3 separate regions of the Homo sapiens genome follow, and all the other regions are linked to region 2. Evidence: promoter capture Hi-C in human tissues and cell types (Jung and others, 2019). All regions are on one chromosome and are shown on one strand. The core of a region is centred on a gene start or on the middle of the fragment in contact, and the rest is flanking DNA. Distances in the headings are between cores, read along the strand shown. Region 1 holds the start of COMMD4 (COMM domain containing 4). Region 2 holds the start of COX5A (cytochrome c oxidase subunit 5A). Region 3 has its middle 8.7 kb from the start of SEMA7A.

Region 1 (5,004 bases), core at 396-2,895, 400 kb before region 2:
CCACACAACTCCAGCCACTCCAGCTTCCCTGCTGCTGCTGGGGCACACCAGCCTTGCTCCCGCCTCCATGCCTGCTGCACTCTCTGTGTGGCTTGCTATCCTTTTTTTTTTTTTTTTGAGACAGTTTCACTCTTGTTCCCCAGGCTGGAGTGCAATGGCGCGACCTCGGCTCACTGCAACCTCCGCTTCCCAGGTTCAAGTGATTCTCCTGCCTCAGCCTCCCAAGTAGCTGGGATTACAGGCATGTGCCACCACACTCGGCTAATTTTGTATTTTTAGTAGAGACAGAGTTTCACTATGTTAGCCAGGCTGGTCTTGAACTCCTGACCTCAAGTGATCCGTCCCCCTCAGCCTCCCAAAGTGCTGGGATTACAGGCGTGAGCCACGGCGCCTGGCCAGTGGCTTGCTATCCTTTAAGTGACACATCAGACCAGCCCTTCTTTTTTTAAAAAATAAAAAAATAAGACAGAGTCTCCCTCTGTTGCCCAGGCTGGAGTGCCATGGCCATGCTGGTCTCGAACTCCTGACCTCAGGTGATCCACCCTCTTCACTCTCCCAAAGTGCTAGGATTACAGGCATGAGCCACCGCACCCAGCCAGAACAGCCTTTCTTGATTATACTTCTTAAAATAGCCCCTCACACAAGGAAATTATGGAGGCCAGTGGATACGTTCATTATCTTGATTGTGGTGATCCAAGAGCCAGGAAGATTTGTTCTCTACTTGTCCAGCCTCATCTTTCCCTAACCTGCAGATGATACTCTCCCAGCTATGGGAAATGCATCCATTCCTGGGGAGCCATACTCTCTCTAACCTGAAGTCTCTGCACATGCTGTTCCCTGTCTGAAGACACACGTCTCCCACCCTTGCCTCCCTACCCCTGGTACACAAACTGTACTTCAGCCAGCCAGCTCCTGCCATCCATCCGCCTTTAAGTTTGATGGCATCCTTAGGAAGCCCCCTTAGCACTACACACAAGGCGCAGTTAGGTCTCTGCCCCTGGAGCCTTAGCTATGACTCCAATTCAAGCCTCCGATTTCCCCTTCCCTTGGCAGCTCAAGTCCTCCCAGTGCCTAGCACACTTCATGGTATAGACCAGGCGCTTAGAACGTACGGATGGATGGATTGGATGGATGGATGGATAAGTCTCAACCCCAAAACTACTACTTTCTGGCTCTGGAAAGAGCGGAGGGGCTTCCTAACAGTGTGGAAGAGTGAGCCTGATTCTAAGCACCTTCTTGTACAAGCCCCACGGCAGGGCTGGGGAAGGGGGTATCCTTGGGAGGTCCTCTTGGGGATGGGGAAGACCTGAAAGGACTCCCAGCTCCAGACAAGCCCTAGTTCCTGCCCCGGGAGGCAGGGGCCCTTCCTTCCGCCAGGGAAGCACCGGGACTCTAAGCCGGCCGGCCTGCTCTGTCTTACCCGCCCCGTACCCCCGCCCCCGTCTCGGGAGCGGGAGAGTGGTGGACTTTTCCCTACCAGACTCACAGCCCTCACGCCCGCACACACTGTGTTTGCGGAGAGGCCAGTACAACCTCCCCCAGTTTCCGGAGCCACTTGGCGCCCCCTCATTCCCGCTCCAGCAGCCCAAGCCTCGCTTCGCCCCTAGTGCCTCACCATCGCGCCAAGAAGCCAGGGCCCGGGAATTTCTTTTTCCGGTCCCGCAGGGTCAGCTGAGTCGACGATCACGTGACTTGGACTAACTGCCTCTGGGAGGGCGGGGCCTGCTCGAGTGAGGCCGGGAGCGGACCGCAGCCCGCTGGAGGTGCAGGGGGCGAAATGCTGGCGTCTCCTCCTCCGTCTCCCAGAATCCTTCCCTGGAAAAAACTGGCGCCAACCGCCAGTTTAACTGAGGACCGAATTAAGACATTAGGAAAGACAGTGGAAGTTATTTCATTTGTTTAACTTAAGGGGGTAGGATCCCGGGAGCCAGGGTGTTTCAGGTCATTGACACGTTTTCCACTGTTAAGCGAATAGCATTATTCACAGCTGCGGGCTGTGGCAAAAGACATTTTAAAAACTATTGACGTCTACTACACATACAGAAAATTGTACCTATTATAAAGCTTAATAAGTTTTCATCAACTGTACACCTCACATAACCAGCACCCAGGTAAGGAAATAAACCAGATAACTTCTTCAAGTGCATGGGTATTTTATTTCATTTTGATGAATCATCTAGGTGCCTAGCAAAAAGGGCTGTCATAATTACTTGCTCAGGAAAACTCCCTACAGCTTCAACATCAATAGATGCTTATCTTAATTTTTGCCAGTCTGATGGGGAAGAAAAATCGGTTGCTTAGGTTGCAGTGGTAGTCTGATTACTGGTAGCTCTGAGCTAATGGGTAGTCTAGAACAACTAAGTTTCCGACATTGACTTGAAGAGGCAAAAACAAAAAGACAAAACAACAAGAAAAATACATTTGAGAATAGACTAATAACCAGAGACAAAATTGAATACAGTCGTCCTTTGGTAACCTCAGGATGTTGGTTCCAGGACCCCAGAGATACCAAAATTCACAGATACTCAAGTCCCTGATATAATATGGCATAGTATTTGCAAATAACCTGTGCACATCCTTCCGTATACTTTAAATCATCTCTAGATTACTATAATACCTAATACAACGTAAATGCTTTGTAAATAGCTGTTATAAAGTTTTTTAATTTTTTTTTTTGAGACGGAGTCTTGCTCTGTTGCCCAGGCTGGAGTGCAGTGGCGCGATCTCCACTCGCTGCCAGCTCTGCCACCCGGGTTCACGCCATTCTCCTGCCTCAGCCTCCCGAGTAGCTGGGACTACAGGCGCCCGCCACTGCACCCGACCTGTGTTTTTTTATTGTTTTACTTTTTCCAAATATTTTCGATGCACAGTTGGTTAAATCCAAGGATCCAGAACCTCAGGATACAGAGGGCTGACTGTAGTTTGAGCTCTCTCCTCAATTCCATGCCTATCCCATGCAACAGGTGCAGCTGGTTTTATTGTTGCAGGCTTTCAGGTTTTTAAAAGACAGAGCCCATGACAATTAAACTGCACTATAAAATAGAAATGTAAAGTGTCCCCAATTCATGGTAAAATTGAGCTCATTTCTGAAGAGTTCTTTTACAAATCATAACCACTAGCCTGTTGAAAACAACAGTACGTTAAGTTACTAGACTATCCTAAACCATGTCAAAAAAATTTTTTAAGAATGTTAAGACCTTTAATCATAGCACTTTGGTAGGCCAAGGCCGGTGGATCGCTTGAGCCCAGGAGTTCTAGACCAGCTTGTGCAACATAGGGAGACCCCAGTCTCTACAAAAAATTACCCGCTTGTCCTGGTGCACACGTGTTGTCCCAGCTACCTAAGAGGCTGAGGTCAGAGGATCTCTTGAGCCTGGGAGGTGGAGGCTGCAGTGAACCATGATGGCACCACTGTACTCCATCCATCCTGAGCAACAGAAGGAGACCATCTCAGAAAAATAAAATAAAATAAAAATAAATAAATAAATAAATAAATAAATAAATAAAGGCTGGGCACGGTGGCTCATGCCTGTAATCCTAGCACTTTGGGAGGCCGAGGCAGGCAGATCACCTGAGGTCAGGAGTTCGAGAGCGGTGGCCTGGCTAACATGGCAAAACCTGTCTCTACTGAAAAAAAACAAAAAAAATTAGCAGGGTGTGGTAGTGGGTGCCTGTAATCCCAGCCAGTCAGGAGGCTGAGGCATGAGAATCGCTTGAACGCGGGAGGTGGAGGCTGCAGTGAGCCGAGATTGCACCGCTGCATTTCAGTCAGCTTGGGCAACAGTGTGAGACTCCGTCTCAAAAAAAAAAAAAAAAAAAAGATGATTTGACTATTTAGAGCCGTGGTTCTCACACATTAGAGTGCATCATCATCACCTGCAGGGCTTGTGAAACCGGCTGCTGGGCCTCACACCAGAGTTTCTAACTCAATAGGACTGAGGTGGGGCCTGAGCATTGCGTGTCTATATTCCCAGGTGACATTTGAGACCATGCTTTGAAAACCACTAGTGTAGGGAAATATACTACAGAATATGTTATGAATATTCTTGAGAATATGTATATATGTTAACTTAGGGTTTCTGTCCAGTGGAAAAGATAACACCCAAAGATGGCAGTTTTATTTCCCAATATGATTTTCTTTTTTTTTTTTGAAATGGAGTCTCGCTCTGTCACCCAGGCTGGAGTGCAGTGGCGCCATCTTGGCTCACTGCAACCTCCACCTCCTGGGTTCACGCCATTCTCCTGCCTTAGCCTCCCGAGCAGCTGGGACCACAGGCGCCCGCCACCACGCCGGGCTAATTTTTTTATATTTTTAGTAGAGACGGGGTTTCACCGTGTTGGCCAGGATGGTCTCAATCTCCTGACCTCGTGATCCGCCCGCCTCGGCCTCCCAAAGTGCTGGGATTACAGGCGTGAGCCACTGCGCTCGGCCCCCCTTTTTTTTTTGAGACGGAATTTAATTCTGCCGCCCAGGCTGGAGTGCAGTGGCACAATCTCAGCTCACTACAACCTCCGCCTCCAGGGTTCAAGCGATTCTCTTGCCTCAGCCTCCTGAGTAGCTGGGACTACAGGTGACCACCACTGCACCTGGCTAATTTTGTATTTTTAGTAGAGACAGGGTTTCAACATGTTGGCCAGGCTGGTCTTGAACTCCTGACCTCAGGTCATCCGCCTGCCTTGACCTCCCAAAGTGCTGGGATTACAGGTGTGAGCCACCATGCCTGACCTCCCTATAGGATATTAACAAGTTTTGTCTCTATCTCAGAATACATTTCAGAATGCCCTTCCTGGAGCATTACAGACACTGTCTCTCAAAAAGCTCCTTGAACTTGCTTCACCATGTTGCTAACTCCCTTGTGAATTAAAGAAAATATCTTATACATATTCCTTCATTATTTGTATGAAAGTCATGCTTTTAACATTGTAAAAATTATTCTTCAGGCTGGGTGCGGTGGCTCATGCCTGTAATCTCAGCACTTCGGAAGGCCAAAGTGGCGGGATCAC
Region 2 (4,674 bases), core at 1,116-3,615:
TCACCCAGGCTGGAGTACAGTTGTGCGATCTCGGCTCACTGCAACCTCCACCTCGCGGGCCCAAGTGATTCTCCTGCCTCAGGCTCCAGAGTAGCGTGCGCCACCACACCCAGCTAATTTTTGTATTTTTCGTAGAGACGGGGTTTCACCATGTTGGCCAGGATGGTCTCGAACTCCCGACCTCAGGTGATCTTCCCACCTCAGCCTCCCAAAGTGCTGGGATTACAGGCATGAGCCACCATACCTGGCCATGTTTCCTTTTCTCCTTTTTTTTAAAAAATTTTATTTTTGAGACGGAGTCTAGCTCTGTCACCCAGGCTGGAGTGCAGTGGTGTGATCTCGCCTCACCGCAACCTCCACCTCCTGGGTTCAAGTGATTTCTGGCTAATGTTAGTAATTTTAATAGAGATGGGGTTTCACCATGTTGGCCAGGCTGGTCTCAAACTCCTGACCTCAAGTGATCTCCTGGCCTTGGCGGCTCAAAGTGCTAGGATTACAGGCGTGAACCACCGTGCTCGGCCTTAATTTCTTTATGGCCAGCTGTTACATAGAAAGGCAAAGAGAAAGGTTAGAGCAATATTTTTAGGCTTTATGGCTGGCTTTGGGACAAAGGGGTTCTACTTTCTAGACCCCCTCTTGGGGAGGAGGGATTCTAGTTTCTGTGGCATGCCTGGAGGGAGAGTAAGGGGCAAGAGACAAGAGGGCAGAAGGTCAGAGAGAAACTGCTTCATAGGCCTTCACTTTGTGGTATTGTTTTCTAAGCCCCAGCACTAGGTTGGTGGGAAACGGTGAGGGCAGGTGCTTTGAAAACATTTTAAAAATCCTTTTCCCCGCCAGGTTCCTACCCACTGAAGCCACACTGCTAGGGAGGAAAAAGAGAAGGGCAGATGCTGAGGCCCTGGAGAGTCGGCCTGAAGTGAGGAAGTGGCACATGAATGGCCACCTTTTCTTTCCTCAGTGTGCCCAGGGATAGAGAATGGGAGACAGCAAGACAGAATACAATGTCTCATTAACTCTGGGCAGCATCCAGATACTTCAGGCCTGGGAGAGGTGTCCTTGACTGCCCAGGGGCTCAAAGTTAGGATGTAGCTAGTGAGATAAGATGCAACAACTGTGGAACTTGATCAACCCTATTTCAGAGCCATCGTGGATTCAGGAGCCCTCCTGTAGGAGATGGGAAACATTCAGGTGAGAGTCCTCAGAACTGGGGATGTGGCGAAAAGATCCTTGACTGCCAGCAGCAACCTAATTTCTGAGCCTCTTTCCTAATCTGTGAAATGAAGTAGTTTAACTCATTTTTTATGCAAGCTGGTTTGTGATATAAGAATATGTACTAATAAAATCCCTTACGCATAGGCCTTTTTTTTTTTTGAGATGGAGTTTTGATCTTGTTGCCCAGGCTGGAGTGCAATGGTGCGATCTCAACTCACTGCAACCTCTGCCTCCTGGGTTCCAGCAATTCTCCTGCCTCAGCCTCCCAAATAGCTGGGATTACAGGCATGCGCCACCACACCTGGCTAATTTTGCATTTTTAGTAGAGACAGGGGTTTCTCCATGTTGGTCAGGCTGGTCTCGAACTCCCGACCTCAGGTGATCCGCCCGCCTTGGGCTCCCAAAGTGCTAGGATTACAGGCGTGAGCAACCGCGTCCAGCGGCATTCTTTCCCCCATTCGCTGTTTTATTTTATGCCACAATGAGAAGGCGGGGCTAAGCAAAGTAGGTTTTTGTTTTGTTTGGTTTTTTTGAGACGGAGTTTCGCTCTTGTTGCCCAGGCTGGAGTGCAATGGCACCATCTCGGCTCACCGCAACCTCCTCCTCCTGGGTTCAAGCGATTCTCCTGCCTCAGCCTCCCGAGTAGCTGGGATTGCGGGCATGCGTTGCGCCACCACGCCTGGCTAATTTTGTATTTTTAGTAGAGACGGGGGTTCCTCCATGTTGCCCAGGCTGGTCTTGAACTCCCGACCGCAGGTGATCCGCCCGCCTCGGCCTCCCAAAAGTGCTGGGATTACAGGCATGAGCCACAGCGCCCGGGCGCAAAGTACGTATTTTTTATTATAGTTTGTTGTTATTGCTGTCATTCCTATTTTGAGGTGATTAAGTGCCCTCCTGGGCCTGACTCGAACAAGATCACGGTCGGTTGCTCCTCCCTCGCCTCCATTCCTACTTACAGGATGGCAGCTGCACGTCACCTGACCAGAGACAAGGCGGGACGCGAGGCTAACAGTTTGTCCTCAGCGCGCCGCCGTAGCCCCCGCCGCCGCCGGCCGCGCGGTGGCTCCTCCCGCCCACGCGCCAGAGTCGCAGTGGGCGGGCCTACGTGCTCCGCCCGCTGTGAGCCTGTCCGGCCCCCGCCCGCTCCGGAGCAACCCGCGAGCTTACACCGGCTTCTCTCTGTCCTCAGCCCGCGCGCCGCCATCGCCGTCATGCTGGGCGCCGCTCTCCGCCGCTGCGCTGTGGCCGCAACCACCCGGGCCGACCCTCGAGGCCTCCTGCACTCCGCCCGGACCCCCGGCCCCGCCGTGGGTAAGGCCCCTGCTTGCCACTGCCCGCGCCCTCGTGTCCTTGCGGTGACCTGGGTCCCCGCTGCCACTCCGGGGCGGGCTCTCCCCGGCCTAGCCCTTGCCCTACCCTGGTTACTGAACCCGGTGACCGCGGGCCGCCCTGCCCGCCGCCTCGAGTAGTGGAGGACCTGAAAGCGCGCCCCCGGGGCCTCCCCCCGCGCAACTTCCTGGCTGTGCCACCGCGGACAGGTCAGATGTGGACCTGCTGTGGGCGCCGAGGAGGGGACGCAGCGCTCCCCTTCGGTTCCCGGGCCATGACCCTGCCCCAGCGCCGACCCTGCGGCCACCTGACCGAGAGTGGCCGCCGCCGGCCTGCAGCGCCTCGGCGAAGGTGACATTGAGCCTCCGGGCACGCCGCTTGGGGTCCGAGGACACAATATACTTCCGTATGGGACACACGATTATACTTTTCAATCAGGCATTTCTCGGTTAGCGATTAGTGTGTCACCTTCACAGCCTTTTCCATCATTTTTAGGGTCTGCTGTGCCACGTTCTAATTCTTCCACGTTTAAAATAGATGGAAGTGTGTGGTTGTTTCCTGATCTCCGGAAGATAGCCAGAGTTTTGATAGGGCTTATGATAAAAATATCACTCTTTTGAAAACTGAATGTCACAGACACAGGAATACTGGGTTTTACAAGCATAGGAACGCTTCGTGTTTTTTCCCCTTTGTAATAGAAGCCTGATTGCTGGAGTATGAGACGTGCTTCTGATTTTTGTCTATTTTCCTTCCCTTTATATGTGTGCTGGGAGGTTTTGAGTCCACCACCATAGAATAATTACAGTAATTGCACTTCGATCTTGGTCCGTGAAATTTAGCTTCTATGCATGCATATTATATTTTATTTTTGAACCTGCATCACTGGCAACTATGCATGCGTATTTAAACATAAGAACTCAGAAACTCGTTTCAGGGTATGCTGAAGTTAAAAATTAAAAAAAGAACTCAGCCGGGCGCGGTGGCTCATGCCTGTAATCCCAGCACTTTGGTAGGCCGAGGCGGGCGGATCACCTGAGGTCAGGAGTTCAAGACCAGCCTGGCCAACATGGTGAAACCCTGTCTGTACTAAAAATACAAAAAATTTAGCTGGGTGTGGTGGTGGGCGCCTGTAATCCCAGCTACTCGGGAGGCTGAAGCACAAGAATCGCTTGAACCTGAGAGGCGGAGGTTGCAGTGAGCCGAAATCGCGCCATTGCACTCCAGCCTGGCCGACAGAGCGAGACTCCGTCTCAAAAAAAAAAAAAAAAAAAAAAGAATATGTTTTGCTTCATTCATTTTAGACTTTTATCATTTGTCGTAGAACCATAAGGCTGGAGGGTACTTTATTTTTGTTTATTTATTTATTTTTAAATTAGAGACGGAGTGTCCCTATGTTGCCCAGGCTGGGCTTGAACTCCTGGGCTCAGGTGATCCTCCCACCTCAGCCTCCCAAAGTTTGGGATTATAGGCATGAGCCACTGCAGCCAACCTAGAGTGTACTTTAGAGATCGTGGAAGCCATTTTATTTTATAGAAAAGGAAACCAAAGTCCATCTTGGGAAACTGACTCCTTGTTTTTTTTTGTTTGTTTGTTTGTTTTTGTTTTGTTTTGTTTTGTTTTGTTTTTTCTTGAGACAGAGTTTCGTTCTTGTTGCCCAGGCTGGAGTGCAATAGCACGGTCTTGGCTCAAGCGATTCTCCTGCCTCAGCCTCCGGAGTAGCTGGGGTTACAGGCACCTGCCACCATGCCCGGCTACTTTTTGTGTTTTTAGTAGAGATGGGGTTTCACCATGTTGGCCATGCTGGTTTCGAGCTCGTGAGGTCAGGTGATCCGTCTGCCTCAGCCTCCCAAAGTGCTGGGATTACAGGCGTGAGACACCACACCTGGCCGAAACTGACTCCTTTTTAATGGTGGAACCATTTTTGTTTCTTATAGTTATGTTTGGGCCATCCTGATGTTTGTTTAGATTTTGTGTTTTGCTAAAGTAACAGTACAATTTACATTTTTCAGCCGGACACGGTGGCTCACGCCTGTAATCCCAGCACTTTGGGAGGTTGTGGCGGGTAGATTACCTGAGATCAGAAGTTCCAGACCAGCCTGAACATGGCGAAACCCAGTATCTACTAAAAATACA
Region 3 (4,847 bases), core at 704-3,203, 490 kb after region 2:
TTTCTGCTTGTCTCCTCCAGGAACAAAAGATTTACCACTTACAACCTATTCTGTCCTTTAACTATTTGCCAGGGCATTACCCCTTGGTCCCCTCTCTGCCCTAAGGAACCACTCGGAACAAGCCTGCTTCCTCTTCTACCTTAGCAGGGCTTTAGTTATTTACGGAATGCCATGGTGGGTCATTGACTTGCCCCTTTGACCTGTCATGGTTTTGGTTCCCAGCATATCCTGTTCGTTTTTCTGGATGACCTCCAGTGTATCAGTGATACTCTTAACGTCCAGATATGGCCCGAACAGGATGTTATTCTTTGCCTCTTCCAGAAAATTTGAGAAGTCTCTCTATGTGCATTGACAGAAAAGACTCAGAACTGGGCTTCTCAATGCCAGGCCTCTGTGTGCCTCAGTGGTCTGCCTGGAGCCCAGCTGCCTACTTGTGGTTGAGAGCAAAGACCAGGAAGCTCTGTCTTTGTACACAGTGTCTCTTGCTTGTTTGTGGTGGAAACAAAGGCCAGTCCTATCCTCATGGGTCTGTCTTGGTCAAATGGGGCTGACACAGCCCTTCCTGTGCCCATGATACAGCCTGCCCAGAGCTCGTTTCCATTCTGTGGCAGCTCTCACCCTGCCTCTGAGGACTGCCTTCAAAGGTGCTGGGGTTCCTTAACTCCCCTATCCCATTATGCTGCAGAACATTTGGGTCACCCTGCCCTATCCCTTGGACCAACCCCCAATACCAGTTCCCAGAACAGAGCCGTCCCCACGGTTTCCCTTTCCCTTCTTTGTTGGCTCTTTCCTCCAGGGGCTTGGCAAGTTGGCTTTGCTTCCTGTGGCCATGTTTTGAGTAGTCTATGTTGAGTCTGATAAGTGCCCCCACTGAGCCTGGGGCTTTCCATGAGCCAAGGACTCTTTCCTCACCATTGTCCCTTTCATCCTTTCTTCTTATTTTTATTATTTTTTTTAAAAAAATTTATTTTTTTTGAGACAGAGTCTCGCTCTGTCGCCCAGGCTGGGGTGCAGTGGCACGATTTCAGCTCACTGCAACCTCCACCTCCTGGGCTCCTGCCTCAGCTTCCCAAGTAGCTGCGACTACAGGCATGTGCCACCATAGCCAGCTAATTTATGTATTTTTAGTAGAGATGAGGTTTCGCCGTGTTGGCCAGGCTGGTTTCAAACTCCTGACCTCAAATGATCCACCTGTCTTGGTCCCCTAAAGTGTTGAGATTACAGGCATGAGCCACCGCGCCGGGCCTCCTTTCATCCTTTCAACAAACATTGACTGAGCCTCCACTCTCTGCCAGATAAACATGACGGTATCTTTGCTCTGACAATGCTGTGTTGTTGGTAAGATGGACAAACAGATGATTGCATTAAAGCCTAATGAGAACTGGGCGAGGCAAGTCTAGGGGCTGTGGCGCTCACAGGAGAGGGGGCTAACGTGGGCTAGGGGTGGGGGTGTGAGGGTGAGGGAAAGCTTCATGGAGAAAGTGGCACTACGCTGAGACCTGAAGGGTAAGGGAGAATTGGGCACGAAGGTATATGTACTGAGGGGGCTGGGAGTGGGGAGCAAACCTGGCTTTTGTAGCCCTGTTTGTCAGGGTGGCTTGCAAGGCAAGTGGGTGGGCAGAGGCTAGATCATTTGAAGCTATGTAAGGAATTTAGACTTACCCTGGACAATGGGAGTCACAGAATGGCAATCGGGAGAGAGTCCAATGTGTGTTTTAGAAAGGTCATTCTGGCTGCTGTGTGGTGAGTATAGTGGGAGTAGAAGACTGAGGGAGGGCAGGCATGAGGAAGCCGGGGAGGAGGCTGTGGCAGTGATCCACTTAGAGCTGCTGGTAGGCTGACCTGACGGCGTGGCAGTGGGGAAGGAGAGGAGGAGGTAGAGAGGCTTTAGGAGTTAGAATTGATACCAGATCTTTGGGAAAGGCGAGTATACTGTTGTCTCCACTGAACAGATGGGGACACCAAGGTTCCAAGGGTTGAAATCATCTGCCCACAGTCTCATGGGCAGGAAGTGGACAAGTGGTCCCAGAAACTCAGGTCTGTCTTACTCCAGAGCTGGTGCCCTTCCTCCCACTGCCCTTGGCCTCTGAAGTGTGGAGGAATGGGAGATGATGAGGGCTTAGATCCGGCTGAGGAGCTAGGGCTTTATCCTGAGGGCAAAGAGCACCCCTGAGGCAGCTGCAGGCAGGGCAGTGGGGGACCAGATCTGTGTGTGAGATAATCTGACAGCTGTGTGGAGGCTGGATTTGTGGGAAGTGAGATGGGGTAGGCGACCAGCTAGGAGGCTGGCTGGATCCTCCAGATGGGACATGGAGGGGGCCTCAACTGGAGCTGCTGCAGGGGAGCTGGGTGGAGGGGAGCTGCTAGGTGTGAAGGACAGACTAGCTCTGGGGGCTGAAAGTGGGGAGGCAGGCAGGATGTGAGCAGGCGGATGGTGGTGCAGCAGTAAGAATAAGGGACTGGGGTGACAATTTGGAATGAGGTGCCATAGGACAGCCAGGTGGGGATGTGTATAATTAAAGACAGTTGGATGTCTTTGGGCTGAGGTAGTGATCAGGAAGTTCTAAGTTGAACACTGGGCCTGTGTCATGTGAGAAGGCAATTAAGCTTTTCAGAGAAAGGTAGAGGAAAAGGGATACCCACTAAGGAGTTCAGCTTTATAGAAAATGGTGACTGATAGATGTGAGGCATGGAACGGGCGCAGGATCTGCTGCTTCTGGGAAGGTGAGAGCAGGAGTCAGCAAAGCTGAGGGAGTGAAAGGACCTGGACAAAGAGGGCATGCTCAGTGGGGTCAGATGCCACAGACAAACCTAGTAACAGAAGGGCTGACCTTGGACTTGTTGACTTGTGCCTTGGTGACCTTGGGGAGACATTCCAATGGAACCGGAGCCAGATAGCAGGGGTTGAGGACTGAATAGGTGAGGGGCAGTGGATGCAGAGAGGGCAGGGGACCTTGCTTGTGAGGGAGAGGATAGTAGTTAGAGGAGAGATGGGATTGAGTGTGAGTTTTTGCAGTTCAGCAGAGGTGAAGTTGGAAGTGATCACAAGAACTTTTCTAGGAAGCTGAGGGAAAAAAAGGAAAAGACCCCAAAATAGAATATGCAAATATGTAGAGATGGGTGAGTTTTCTAACAGATCCGTTCTCCTGATATAACTCAAATTTGGCTGGGCTGGTATGGGCTGGGCTGGCACAGCTTGCTGGGCACATGGGCCCCAGATCTGCTCCTCGCCTCAGTCCCATCTGGCCTGGGCCCCAGACCAAGCTCACAGAGCCCTACCCTGAGGTGGCTTCTTGTTGCTGTTGCCACAGACTTTGGCCCTGGGTGTTTGTTGAGGATGTTGGGGAGTTTATTCAGGCCTCCCTCTTTCTGCTTACCCAGCCTCTCCAGCAGGTGGGGTCCCCTCTGGCCCTGGGCTGGGCTCAGGTCAGTTCAGCTGTGCCCCTAGTTCCTCTGGGCCTGGGCCTGTCTCGTTCTCATAGGCTCTGAGATCGCTGGGAATAGAATTCAACTTCTATGCTAGAAATGCTTTCGTGGCAACCCAGGCACTGGCCTACTCTATCTTGGCAAAACTAGCTAATATTAATAGTACATTACACAGCACAGTAGTGCTTATTTATCAAGCATCCTCTCTGTGCCAGGCATTGAGCTAGGCACTCACATGTGCCATCTTAGTTAATCCTCATAGCGACTCTGAAAACTAGATATTATTAGCCCCATGTACAGAGGAGTGCTTCCTGTATGCTGGGGAAGTGGCCTTTCTAGGGCTTGGGTGGGATTGTGTCAGCATGATTCCATCAGTGCACCCACCTGGGGCCTTGTGCCTGGCTGGCCGAAGGGTCTCCTAACCACTTACCTTTGGAGTGGCAGCTCAGGTCTTGGAGGGGACTTAGGCTTCTAAGTCAGATTGAGGTTTAGATTGCTTTTCCACATATGACCTAACTTCTTGGAGCGTCAGTTGTGCCTTGTTTGACGTTTTCCCTCAATTTCTATAAGTGGATATTGAGTATGTGTATCAGAGATGCCAGGCACTCAGAGCTGGGCCAGTGAATGTTCTAGATGGCATCAGGGCCCAGACAATGAAGTAACCCTAACAAGGACAGAAGCAAAGAAAGTCTAAGGTCCTGCAGTGGGGACCAGAAATTTTTTTTTTTTTTTTGAGACAGAGTTTCACTCTGTCACCCAGGCTGGAGTGCAGTGGTGCAATCTCGGCTCACGGCAACCTCTGCCTCCCGGGTTCACACCATTCTCCTGCCTCAGCCTCCTGAGTAGCTGGGACTACAGGTGCCCGCCACCACGCCCAGCTAATTTTTTGTATTTTCAGTAGAGATGGGGTTTCACCGTGTTAGCCAGGATGGTCTCGATCTCCTGACCTCGTGATCCGCCCACCTCGGCCTCCCAAAGTGCTGGGATTACAGGCATGAGCCACCGCGCCCGGCCAAGGGGGACCAGAAAATTAATTGCTCTTATGCAGAATCGAGTCTCATTTCTTCTCCTGGGCCCAGATTCAATAATCTTTCTCAAATGAGCATCCCAGAGAGCCACTACTGATGGTTGAGAATTGGCCCAGGGATAACCCTGGGCTGAGATCAAGAGGATTTAACAACGTGTTGTCTCAACCCATTAAGAGTGCCTTTAGAGGTGCTAGAATAAGGAGGAAGGAAGCTAGTCTTTCAGCCCTTTACTGCTCAGCCTCCACACTAGGTGTTGTGTTCTGATCTGAGGCCTGATCTTTGAAAGAGAGAGACACAATCTGGACTGTTTAGCACCTAGGAGGGGTCAGTAAAAGTTTGCTAAATGACGGACTGATCGTGTCTTAGAAATCAACCAGGATTAGAGAGCCTCTC

Evidence for each region. Contacts are between HindIII fragments. The study calls those that stand out against the background at their distance.
Region 1: a contact is called between the fragment with the promoter of COMMD4 here and the fragment with the promoter of COX5A in region 2, in 3 of the 25 tissues and cell types used here (dorsolateral prefrontal cortex, hippocampus and lymphoblastoid cells).
Region 3: a fragment that was not itself captured here is called in contact with the fragment with the promoter of COX5A in region 2 in 1 of the 25 tissues and cell types used here (spleen).

Annotation. Positions count from the first base shown.
Region 1 is chr15:75,332,704-75,337,707 of GRCh38, reverse strand. COMMD4 (COMM domain containing 4) reads right to left here and starts at 1,645. Exons shown (of 8, transcript NM_017828.5): 1 at 1,616-1,645. The coding sequence starts at 1,618. RefSeq lists enhancers at 1,252-1,421, 1,762-1,811. The HindIII fragment of the contact is 27,503 bases long and covers 1-5,004 here.
Region 2 is chr15:74,935,764-74,940,437 of GRCh38, reverse strand. COX5A (cytochrome c oxidase subunit 5A) reads left to right here and starts at 2,365. Exons shown (of 5, transcript NM_004255.4): 1 at 2,365-2,523. The coding sequence starts at 2,424. RefSeq lists a silencer at 2,112-2,671. The HindIII fragment of the contact is 14,403 bases long and covers 1-4,674 here.
Region 3 is chr15:74,440,217-74,445,063 of GRCh38, reverse strand. No RefSeq gene overlaps it. Among named protein-coding and RNA genes, the nearest start is that of SEMA7A, 8.7 kb to the right of the region's middle. RefSeq lists enhancers at 1,751-2,260, 2,773-3,282 and a silencer at 2,222-2,406. The HindIII fragment of the contact is 4,445 bases long and covers 1-4,175 here.